Linked DNA regions of Homo sapiens: all the other regions are linked to region 1. Evidence: promoter capture Hi-C in human tissues and cell types (Jung and others, 2019). All regions are on one chromosome and are shown on one strand. The core of a region is centred on a gene start or on the middle of the fragment in contact, and the rest is flanking DNA. Distances in the headings are between cores, read along the strand shown. Region 1 holds the start of CCR7 (C-C motif chemokine receptor 7). Region 2 overlaps KRT26 (keratin 26). Region 3 holds the start of KRT28 (keratin 28). Region 4 overlaps KRT25 (keratin 25).

What was found. The method cuts DNA at HindIII sites, captures the fragments that hold promoters and counts their contacts. A contact is called where the count stands out against the background at its distance.
Region 2: a fragment that was not itself captured here is called in contact with the fragment with the promoter of CCR7 in region 1 in 2 of the 25 tissues and cell types used here (IMR-90 fibroblasts and mesendoderm cells).
Region 3: the fragment with the promoter of KRT28 here is called in contact with the fragment with the promoter of CCR7 in region 1 in 1 of the 25 tissues and cell types used here (mesendoderm cells).
Region 4: a fragment that was not itself captured here is called in contact with the fragment with the promoter of CCR7 in region 1 in 2 of the 25 tissues and cell types used here (IMR-90 fibroblasts and pancreas).

What each region holds. Positions count from the first base shown.
Region 1 is chr17:40,564,056-40,566,755 of GRCh38, reverse strand. CCR7 (C-C motif chemokine receptor 7) reads left to right here and starts at 1,284. Exons shown (of 3, transcript NM_001838.4): 1 at 1,284-1,356. The coding sequence starts at 1,347. RefSeq lists an enhancer at 1,729-2,645. The HindIII fragment of the contact is 11,021 bases long and covers 1-2,700 here.
Region 2 is chr17:40,765,690-40,768,389 of GRCh38, reverse strand. KRT26 (keratin 26) reads left to right here. Exons shown (of 8, transcript NM_181539.5): 7 at 737-804; 8 at 1,724-2,152. The coding sequence ends at 1,875. Among named protein-coding and RNA genes, the nearest start is that of KRT26, 5.2 kb to the left of the region's middle. The HindIII fragment of the contact is 8,204 bases long and covers 1-2,700 here.
Region 3 is chr17:40,798,540-40,801,239 of GRCh38, reverse strand. It overlaps KRT28 (keratin 28), which reads left to right and starts at 1,281. Exons shown (of 8, transcript NM_181535.3): 1 at 1,281-1,796; 2 at 2,241-2,323. The coding sequence starts at 1,347. RefSeq lists an enhancer at 2,103-2,700. The HindIII fragment of the contact is 10,010 bases long and covers 1-2,700 here.
Region 4 is chr17:40,747,945-40,750,644 of GRCh38, reverse strand. KRT25 (keratin 25) reads left to right here. Exons shown (of 8, transcript NM_181534.4): 6 at 48-265; 7 at 1,320-1,387; 8 at 2,259-2,624. The coding sequence ends at 2,368. Among named protein-coding and RNA genes, the nearest start is that of KRT25, 6.0 kb to the left of the region's middle. The HindIII fragment of the contact is 7,107 bases long and covers 1-2,700 here.

The DNA.
Region 1 (2,700 bases), core at 35-2,534:
CACAATGAGATACCACTTTACAGCCACTAGGATGGCTAGAATCAAAAGAATGGACAATAGTAAGTTTTGTTGACAATGTGGAACCCTCACGCATTGTTGATGGGAACAAAATGGTGTAGTCACTTTGGAAAACAGTTTGATAGTTCGTCAAAATGTTAAATATATAATTACCATATGACTCAACAATTTCACTTCTAGGTATATACCCAAGAGAAATAAAGCATATGTCCACACAAACACTTGCACATAAATATTTATAGCAGCATCATTCATAATAGCTAAAAGGGAAAACAGCCCAAACATCCAACTGATGACAGACAAACAAAATGTGGCATATCCATACAATGGAATGTTATTCAGCCATAAAAAGGAATGGGGAATGGATCCATACCACCACATAGGTAACCTTGAAAACACTAACTGAAAGAAGCCAGATGTGAAGGTCACATATTGATACTTCTATTTATGTGAAATGTTCAGAATAGGAAAATCTATAGAGCCAGAAAGTAGATTTGTGGTTGCCAGGGGCTTTCGATGACAGGAGGGGAGGGGAGCAGTCATTGCTAGTGATTACAGGGTTCTTGAGAGGGAGTGAGAAAAAATGTTCTAAAATGTATTGTGGTGATGGTTGCATAACTCTGTGAACATACAAAAACCATTGAATTCTATACTTTAAAAAGGTAAATTTTATGGGATGTGGATTATAGCTCAATAAAGCTGTCATTAAGAAAGGAAAAGGAAGGGAGGGGAGAAGAGGGAAAGGGGAGGGAGGGGAGGGGAGGGGAAGGGGGGAGAAAAAAGATACATCGTGGCATATCTCTTCCCTTTTACCTGTCATTATGTGTCAGTGCCTCCCATTGGCCTAAACTACCCAGAAGCCAGAGGGAAAGCCATTTGGGACTATATTCCACTGTGACACTGAGCAGAGCAAGGGAAGGATGGGGACACTTCTCTCACACATCTCTGACTCCCCAACATCTAACCCATGGCCTGGCATGTGATATTCATGCTATAAATATTTGTTGAATCAGTAAATGGCCCCTCATCTAGATTCTGCCAGGCAGCGCAGGGGGCTTTTTGAATGTAAATGACCTAATGATTCAGGATCCTATGACCAGCGACTGTCACCCTCTGTCACCTTTCTTCTGCCCCTTTATCTCTGAAGGCATTGAAGGGGCCCTGCATGAGTCAGGGAGGGCTGGGGGGAGGAGCAAGGGTGGGAGGGGCAGGGAAGAGGGTGGCTTCTCCGACAACTTAAAAGGGGCTTGAACCACTTCCTCCCCAGACAGGGGTAGTGCGAGGCCGGGCACAGCCTTCCTGTGTGGTTTTACCGCCCAGAGAGCGTCATGGACCTGGGTGAGTGAGCCTCTTCATGTGAGAAGGAACAGTACCAGGGTCTTGGACACCCAGACTGACCCTGTGGAATGGGGGTGGAGGATGCGGGTGGAGCGCATAGGGGTGCTTCCTGGAGAAATCAGTTCTGATTTGGTGGGCATTGGAAGCTACTTCCAGAGAATGCCCCCTGCTGTCCCAGGAGGGGTGCACCTGCCCTTTCAGACCTGGAGAAGGGGTCAGCCTTTGGTGCCAGTGGGGACAAGGGAGGGGCCGAGATCATGTCTTTCTAAAACAGCAGGGACATAAGAGAGTGGCGGGGCTGGGCTTGGTGGTCTGGCAGAACCTGTTCTCATCATGAGGGTGATAGGTTAGGCCCTCTGGGACCTCTGGGGACAGGTTTCAACAGAGAAATTCTCCCTAGAGAGCTTAGGACCTTTTACCCACTCTCTGATTCCCACCTTTCTCCCCTGCCAAATATTCATATACCTGTCCACTTGGGGTCATGAGGAGATGCAAATGAAACGTGACTGGGTTGTGAGAATGGTGCGGTGCATTGCAAATGCAAGCTCTGGTTGCTTTCTCTCTGCTGCACATCCCACCTGCTTTGATCTGGCTTTGCTGTTGCCTCTTGCAAGTTAAGGAACGGGCAGGCAACATGGAATGGGATGGCAAGGGGCACTCAGCTTGGAGAAATCATAGCCAGGCCTTCAGCACAGCCCCTGCCCCTGAGCAAACCTCACGCACTCTGCCCCGGCAGATAACTCTACTCTTTAGAAAGCCCTTTCTCAGGTCTAACCTAGAAGGGGTCAAGGGGAAGCACTGAGGGTGTTCTGAGTGGTTCATCCAGCTCCAGACGCCCCCTTTATAAATCTCAGCTGTGGAGTCAGACCAGGCTGAGGCTAAGAAGACCAGGTTCCTAGATGGCTTGTCTCACCAGCAAACAATGCACCACGGCGGCCTCAAAGCCGCAAAGGGTTGGCTTTAAAAAGTGAAGGTTCCCTGGTGCTGTCCTCACACCCCTCCTCGCCACACCACAGCCTCCTTGATTTCATCTCTTACTTTCCCGCCTGCCCTGAACGCTGGATCTGGACCCAGCAAACAGCTGTGAAAGGGTTAAAGTGGTCACCCCACCCACTGACTGTGAACTCCTGAAAGGCAGGTTCAGGTGCTTTGAGGATGTGAGGAGAAAATGTCTGCGGAATGAATGAATACACCGTATCAAGAACTCCGTAGAGTTTAGTTTTTGAAAATCTCTTCCAAATGCCTCATTTCCCAGCCAATCTACCCTTAAATCCCACTCCCCTGCACCCCCTCCACCACCCCCCATCACAATCCCACAGTACAGACGTCACCCACAGAAGACCC
Region 2 (2,700 bases), core at 7-2,506, 200 kb before region 1:
GAGCACATTGTTTAACCTTTTCAAATGCAGTTTCCTCGTTGATGAAATTGTGATAAAGCCAAAACCATACTTGTAACAAGTCTTAACTATAATGTCTCACTACATAGGTAAAGAGCTCATGACAGTGGCATACACAGAAAAGGTATTTGGTAATCACTGCCTATTACTAAATGCTTGCCCATGGCCGCATAGTGAGGAGGTAACGTCTTGCACCCTCCAAGGCCCATCAGCCCTCTGCAGCCTATTCTCACAGGAACCCAACAGTGATTGCTCCCTCCTCAGAACAAAGCACTCATTACACCACTCACTTTTCACTTAATTTACAGCACTTTTCATGTTATAGGTAACTTTTTGCATGTGTATACTTTATTTCCAACTGTAAAAACTGTGTCTTGGTTCTATATCTTCTGCAGCACCTAGCCCAGCAACACCTTTTTCATGGTAGGCACTCCAAACACATTCACTGGCCAGTTGATTGAAAAGTCAGAGTGAGAAATATTGCTAGATGAAAGAGGTAATTTCTGGTCATGAGAAAATTTCTATTCATAAACATCCATTTAATCTCTTCTTTCACTATGTTGAAGTCATGAAAAGCTTATTAATGTCCTTTAAATATATAAGGAATTTGAATCTTATTGAAACTAGAATTCCAAAACTCTTATTTCCAATTTAGAGGTATTTATAAGCTCACTAAGGAAAGAAAAAAAAATGCAATAATTTACTCTTCTCTTCACAGAAAAAGCAAATCCACATGTTACAAATCAAAAGGATACAGGCCTGTGAATTCTGGAAATCAAGCCAAAGGTATAGATAGATTTTTTTTACCTGGTGTAACTCCTTAAACTCCATCAATTGTGTTAACTAAGTTACTTATTTTTTAACTAAATAAAATTTGTTTTTAAGTTTACTTCTGGTGAATAAAGGGATGAGGGGTCATTATGATAGTTCTTAATATTTGTATTTTATATTCCCGTAGATCAACAGATGTGGTCAAATTATGAAATTATTGAAATGAGGAATTAATCCCACAACATGTTTCTTACCTGGAATGTATTATCTTTCATAGTTTCAATACTTTGATAAAAGAGCTACTTTATCTTAAACCACAAAAATCGGGCAAGTTGGTATTTAAAAGAAGACAACATTACTTGCAGCCAGCCTTTACTGCCTGATACTTAGATTGTTTTAATCCATGTTTCATTTATGTTTTCAAATGCCCATTGCTCTAAAAGCAGTGGCAAATATAAGAGAGATAGTCCAGGATCTTGCTAAACACTGACTTCAAACACAGTATTATATATCGATTTACTGCAAACTTGCAAAAAACATTTTTAAAAAGCAAACATTTTTTAAAAGGTGCAGTGGCTCATGCTTGTAATCCCAGCACTTTGGGAGGCCAAGGCAGGTGGATCACTTGAGGTCAGGAGTTCGAGACCAGCCTGGTCAACATGGTGAAACTCCATCTCTACTAAGAATACAAAAATTAGCCAGGCATTGTAGCAGGCATCTGTAATCCCAGCTACTCGGGAGACTGAGGCAGAAGAATCTCTTGAACCCGGGAGGCAGAGGCTGCAGTGAGCCGAGATCATGCCACTGCACTCCAGCCTGGGTGACAGAGCGAGACTCCTTCTCAAAAAAACAAACAAACAAAAAGCATACCTATTATGGCTACTTTTCAACCTGTTAAAAAATGACCACTAATGTTTTATTTATTTTATTTTAGACTCAACAGAAGAAACTATTGTTAAAACAGTGGTTGAGGAACTGGATCAAATTGGCAATCTCCTTTCACTGAGAGTCCACTCAGTTGAAGAAAAGTCCTCTAAAATAAGCAACATTACAGTAGAGCAACGAGTACCTTCTAAAGCACCATAATGAGGAAAAAGTTATTTGGAAAGAAAGAAAGAAAGAGAGAGAGAGAGAAAGAAAGAAAGAAAGGCTGCCTTTGCAAAAATCCTACTGGTCAAATAACCTAAGGAAATTATTCATTTCTGTTCTTAAAAGGGCTAGAATTTGTTCTCCTTCTCTTCCTTTTCTCATGTTCTATGCATGTAATCCTTTTCCAGAGTAGAAAAATCCTGCTCTGTCCCTAATTTTTGTTTTTATTTTGGGGGCCTTTTTTGACATTTCATTAAAAATTCTTCTATTGCAAGTTATTTTTTTTAATATCTGATTCTTTTTAATTGCTAAAGTTGATCCCAATGTGGCAATACTAAGGACCTGCTAATAAAATAATGTGTTTCATTTCATAGTCACAGTTACCTCAATTAATAACAGAATAAGGTGGAAAGAGCACTAGCTCTAATGTCTGGTCCCAAATCTGTCCCTGATTGACTACGTAAATAAGTTGATCTTCTTGGGTTTGAGTGTCTATGGACATAAAAGAAGAAGATAATACCCACTGATCACTAGGATTTGTTTACCCTTACAATGCCTAGCCTGGGTGATCAGCAAATGTTTGTTGTAAAATCTGAACCTGGAAAGCCGTTTTTCCATTTTCCAGCACATGCATCTCTCTGCCTCTACCATGGTAATGACTAAGCAAATTTAGAACTAAAGCCTAGGGGTGGTTCTAAATCTTGCTCATATTCTCCTGCACACAAAATTCTGCCTGACATCCTTACTAAATTATTTTGGAAAGTGCAGCTGGGATTGGAAAGCAGCAAAGTTCTAGGCTAAAGAGGTTTTTTTCATTTGGAG
Region 3 (2,700 bases), core at 32-2,531, 230 kb before region 1:
CAAGAACACCAGAAATTTCTTTGCCACTATTTCCTTCTTCTGGACCTGTCTTCAAATCCCAAAACCCACATCAATCTGATCATCATCCTTTCTATTCCTGCACCAGGATTACTTCCAAATATGCAGTTGAACATCATTATAAATGAGAGCTGGACCCTCCAATTTTCTTTTACTCATTGCTAGTCAAGTATTTTTCCAGTTCAGTATACATATTCTAAACAGTCATTCTTGCTATCAGTCACCTTCATCTGGAACATTCTGGCAACCCCTCAAATCCAGTTGGTCCAAACCTAAACTCAGTGTCTTCCTCCTCCTCTATTCCCCATCTCAGTGAATATTATGAGTTCCCAGAATCTAAAATTAATTACCTAAGAGTTATCCCCAATTCTGCCTTATTCCCTACTCTCCAAATTCAATCATATTACCATATGCTCTCAAAGCCATCTTCTCTGCATCCCCACTGCCTTCATCCTTCTCACCTGGACCATTATTCCAACCTTGTAATTGACCACCTTGTTTCATTTCAACCTGATCATTTTGCCCTCTGCTTTTTACTTAGGATTCATTACAAACTCTTTAGACCAGCACAGAAAGCTAACCATGATCCAGCCCCTGTCTGGACCTGACAATAGATTTCTTAAAGATTGTAATCACGCATTTTTCACTTCTGCATTTAGTTAACACTATGTCTTTCATTTTAGCACTTAGCATAGAGCACCAAACATCATAACCATGCTATTTTAAACAAAATAATAGGTCAATATTTGTGTCATTGTCCAAGATAATAAATAGATGTTATAATCATGGTAAGAACAGAGATGTCACTAGCCTCTGTTTTCTAAATAACACATTTTTTTCTGGTGGGATAAAATATCTGTTTCTGTAATTAGCAGTCCTTTATACCCCTCCATGGTAATTGAGACCCTACTGTACCTCACAGAACTCTATCATAATCTTACTTAACTTTATAAAAAATTTGATAATACCTGGCGCCAGATAATGACAGTATATGCCTAGGGTCTAGATGAAAGGAAAGGATTACTCACTCAAAATTAGAAGTTAAATTAATAAACTTAATATAGAACAAACCCTATTATATTTAAGATAAGAAATAGCCCAAAGCAACACCGAGGGATGTTAGACATTAATTATTTTTAAAATCACCCAATTATACATAATTTTATGCTAATCTAAGTGATGCCATTTTGCTTTTGGCATGTATAACTCAAATAGGAACGCCCCAATAATGATATATAAAAACCCAAAGAAATTATCAGTGCATGATATTCTGTTCTCTTGGGACATTACAGTTTTGCATAGACAAGGTGAACATTTCTCAAAACACCATGTCTCTCCAATTTTCTAATGGATCCAGGCATGTTTGCTTAAGGTCTGGAGCTGGATCTGTCAGACCCCTCAATGGAGGTGCAGGCTTTGCAGGCAGCAGTGCATGTGGTGGCTCTGTTGCTGGAAGTGAATTTTCCTGTGCCTTGGGAGGGGGCTTGGGCAGTGTTCCTGGTGGGAGCCATGCTGGTGGTGCCCTTGGAAATGCTGCTTGTATTGGCTTTGCTGGAAGCGAAGGGGGACTCCTCTCTGGAAATGAGAAGGTGACCATGCAAAATCTTAATGACCGCTTGGCATCCTACCTGGATAATGTGCGAGCTCTGGAGGAGGCAAATGCTGAATTAGAGAGAAAAATCAAGGGTTGGTATGAAAAATACGGACCTGGATCTTGCCGTGGACTTGATCATGACTATAGCAGATATCACCTAACAATTGAGGATCTTAAGAATAAGGTGAGAAATCACAGATTTGGAACTAACCCAAGTATTTAAAACTAAGAAATACCTAACAAAAGACATACAATAAGAAATGCTTCATGACTGTTATAACTTGTATTTATTTATTTAGATAAACAATTCTTCCTACTATTCAAAAATGGGCCCTTTGATTCATGAATTTTAATGTAGTTAAAATGTTATTAGTTCCATTGTTTATGTTGAAGTACATTCATAGGCATATGAATAAAAAAGTATTGTAGTTCTAAATTTAGGGGAATATATGAGAATAAATAAAACCATGTCTTTAATTTTTAAAAGTTAAACTTGAAACATTTTGATTATTACATAAGGAGGTGAAATTTTTATGCAAAAACTTGAGTAACCTTTTTCATTTCCTGAAATAATGAATCACATAAAAGCATACTTACTTGTTGTGTTCTCTGTTTTGGTTTATTCTAGATTATCTCCTCCACTACTACTAATGCTAATGTCATTCTGCAGATTGATAATGCCAGACTGGCTGCTGATGATTTCAGGCTAAAGTAAGTGACAGAAGAAAATCCTGCTCTAGAAAAAAGTTTCTATTTATTTAATTTGTTAAATAAAATTTCTATTTCATCCCAAGTAGAATGAACTATCACCTAAAAGATAAAAGGAAGCAAAGGATTTGTATTATAATGTTACAATCAACTTATACATAGTTATTATATTCCTGGGACAAAATATCAATATATTTCTCTGCCTGCCTAGAATACTGCCAAGCACAAAGTAGATGCTCAGTAAATCATTAGTCAACTAAGGAAAAACGTTAACTAAAATAAAATTCCAAAATGGTGTATTTTTATTTAACTAGGTTATGCTATTGGAATTTGTGTGATGAAATAACTTCCAATTATCCTGTACAGAATTGAGTGGGGGT
Region 4 (2,700 bases), core at 186-2,685, 180 kb before region 1:
GCATATCTGCATATCCATTTCAAGTTCTCTTTATTGCTTCCTGACAGAAACACTCCCTGGAGTGCTCCTTGACAGAGACCGAGAGCAACTACTGTGCGCAGCTGGCGCAGATCCAGGCTCAGATCGGGGCCCTGGAGGAGCAGCTGCACCAGGTCAGAACCGAGACCGAGGGCCAGAAGCTGGAGTATGAGCAGCTCCTGGACATCAAGCTCCACCTGGAAAAAGAAATTGAGACCTACTGTCTCCTTATAGGAGGAGATGATGGGTAGGTAAAATAATCTGCATAGATGGCGTAATATACTGAAATCTGCTTGCAACTTAGATCCCACTTTCCACTGGAAAGCGGACATAATTTGGCTGCATGCATTTATTATCATGAATACTAAATATTAAATATAATACATACTCAACTGCCAAAATACAAATTAATATCTTAAACCAATATGCAGCAGGCACCGAGTTCAAGATATGAACATTGAAAATATCACTTCTAGAGTGAAAAGAACAAACGGGAGGCTAAATGGAGTTTCAATATGTGGACCAGGATTCTGACTCTGGAAATGGTTTCTGGAGCTCAGCACTCACAGAATCCTGTCTTCATAGCACTGATAAAGTCCCATGGCCACAAGTCTGGATGTCTAGAGCTCAGGGTTGTTAGGAGCAGGAAGCTTCCTGAATTCACAATGAAGATCATTTTCATCACCCCAGAAAGTTCTTCTGTGCCCCACTTCCCTTGGCAGTTATTATTTTATCCATTCTTGATGTTAATATAAAAGGAATCATACAGAAAAAAAAATCACTTCTTAATGCTGAAGCAGAACAAAAACATTACAGTCTCAGAGAAAACCCCACTTAGGAAAAGTATCTTGTAATTGCCTAACTGCTGAAGCGATCTACACCACTCTTCCCCACCTATCATCAAACCCTCCCTCATTGACTAGAGTGATGCTTCCAAATGTAAATCCTTACACAGCTATATAAATTTGTCACAATTCATAAACCTGCAAAACTTAAAAGGGTGAATTTCAACCTAAGTTGTATAAATACACCCAGTGGCATGCTAGAACTGCTGTTACCATCTCATGACAGCCTCTTCTGCCTATCTCTTCTCTTCCTAACCCCTCACTTAGTGATGTCACTTGGTGACTTGATATCAGCAATGGAGAAGGTATTCATACCTCTACAGAAATCAGCAAACACTATAAATCAAATACTGGGTTACACAGTTGAAACTACCAAAGAGCTAAAGAAAACCATATGGTGATCCTAGAATTGATGGGGTTCTCTCTAAATCACCCTCTTTTGCGATGTTTTCACAGAGCCTGTAAGTCTGGGGGTTACAAGTCTAAAGATTATGGATCTGGAAATGTGGGAAGTCAAGTCAAAGGTAATTAAAATGAAATCTGTTGTGCAATGCTAATTTTTTATTTTTTAACTTTTAATTTAGGTTTGGGGGTACATTGGAAGGTTTGTTACATAGGTAAACACGTGTCACGGAGGTTTGTTGTGCATATTATTTGATCATCCAGGAATTAAGCCCGGTACCCAATAGTTATCTTCTCTGCTCTTCTTCCTCCTCCCACCCTTCCCCCTCAAGTAGAACCCAGTATCTGTTGTTTCCTTCTTTGTGTTCATAAGTCCTTATCATTTATCTCCCACTTATAAGTGAGAACATGTGGTGTTTGGTTTTCTGTTCCTGCGTTAGCTTGCTAAGGATGATAGCCTCCAGCTCCATCCATGTTCCTGTAAAAGACATGATCTTGTTCTTTTTCATGGCTGCATAATATTCCATGGTGTTTATGGCTTTATCCAGTCTGTCACTGATGGGCATTTAGGTTGATTTCTTGTTCTTGCTATTGTGAATAATGCTGCAATGAACATTCACATGCATGTGTCTTTATGGTAGAATGTTTTCTATTCCTCTGGGTATATATACCCAACTACTTCATTTTTAATGCATAGCTTGATTGTTCTTATATTACCATGGCTTGGTAAGAATACATACAATAAAGATTTGTAGTAGATATCCATATGTGCTAGATGTCTAATATTAGTGATTTGTGCTAATTTTAAACAAAATAACATGTCACCATGTTTTTTCTAACCAAATAATCAAAATTATTCACCAAAAATGAGTCTAAGTATTTGTGCTTAGTGCAAAGTTCATTCTGTATGCAAATCCTATTATTCCTTTAAATGATATAATTTTTATTCTTTTTTTAACTACATAAAATCTCCTTTTAATTTTTAATGCTCAGACCCAGCCAAAGCCATAGTGGTTAAGAAAGTTCTTGAGGAGGTAGACCAACGCAGCAAAATACTTACCACCAGGCTCCACTCCCTGGAAGAGAAATCTCAAAGCAATTAATTTGAGATGCAACAGAGAACGTATGCCACATAGCCCCTGCGAAGAAAAGGCATTATGTATCTGTCCAGAAAAATGTGCATGTCTAAGAAAAATGTCTAACCTGTTGTCTTTCTGTTACTTTCTTTCTGGGCAATCAATGACAGCATCTCCCCATTCATCTAGAAGAATGCCACACACAAATATGACTCATTTGATTATCCTACAGAAATCTGTTGTCAATTCTTTGTATTCAATAAACCTCTTCTTTAGCAAGTTATCATTGGTGATACTGTCTTTAGAATGTTTATGTGTGCAATATAAATATGTGAACATCTAACAGCTTTTATTATATA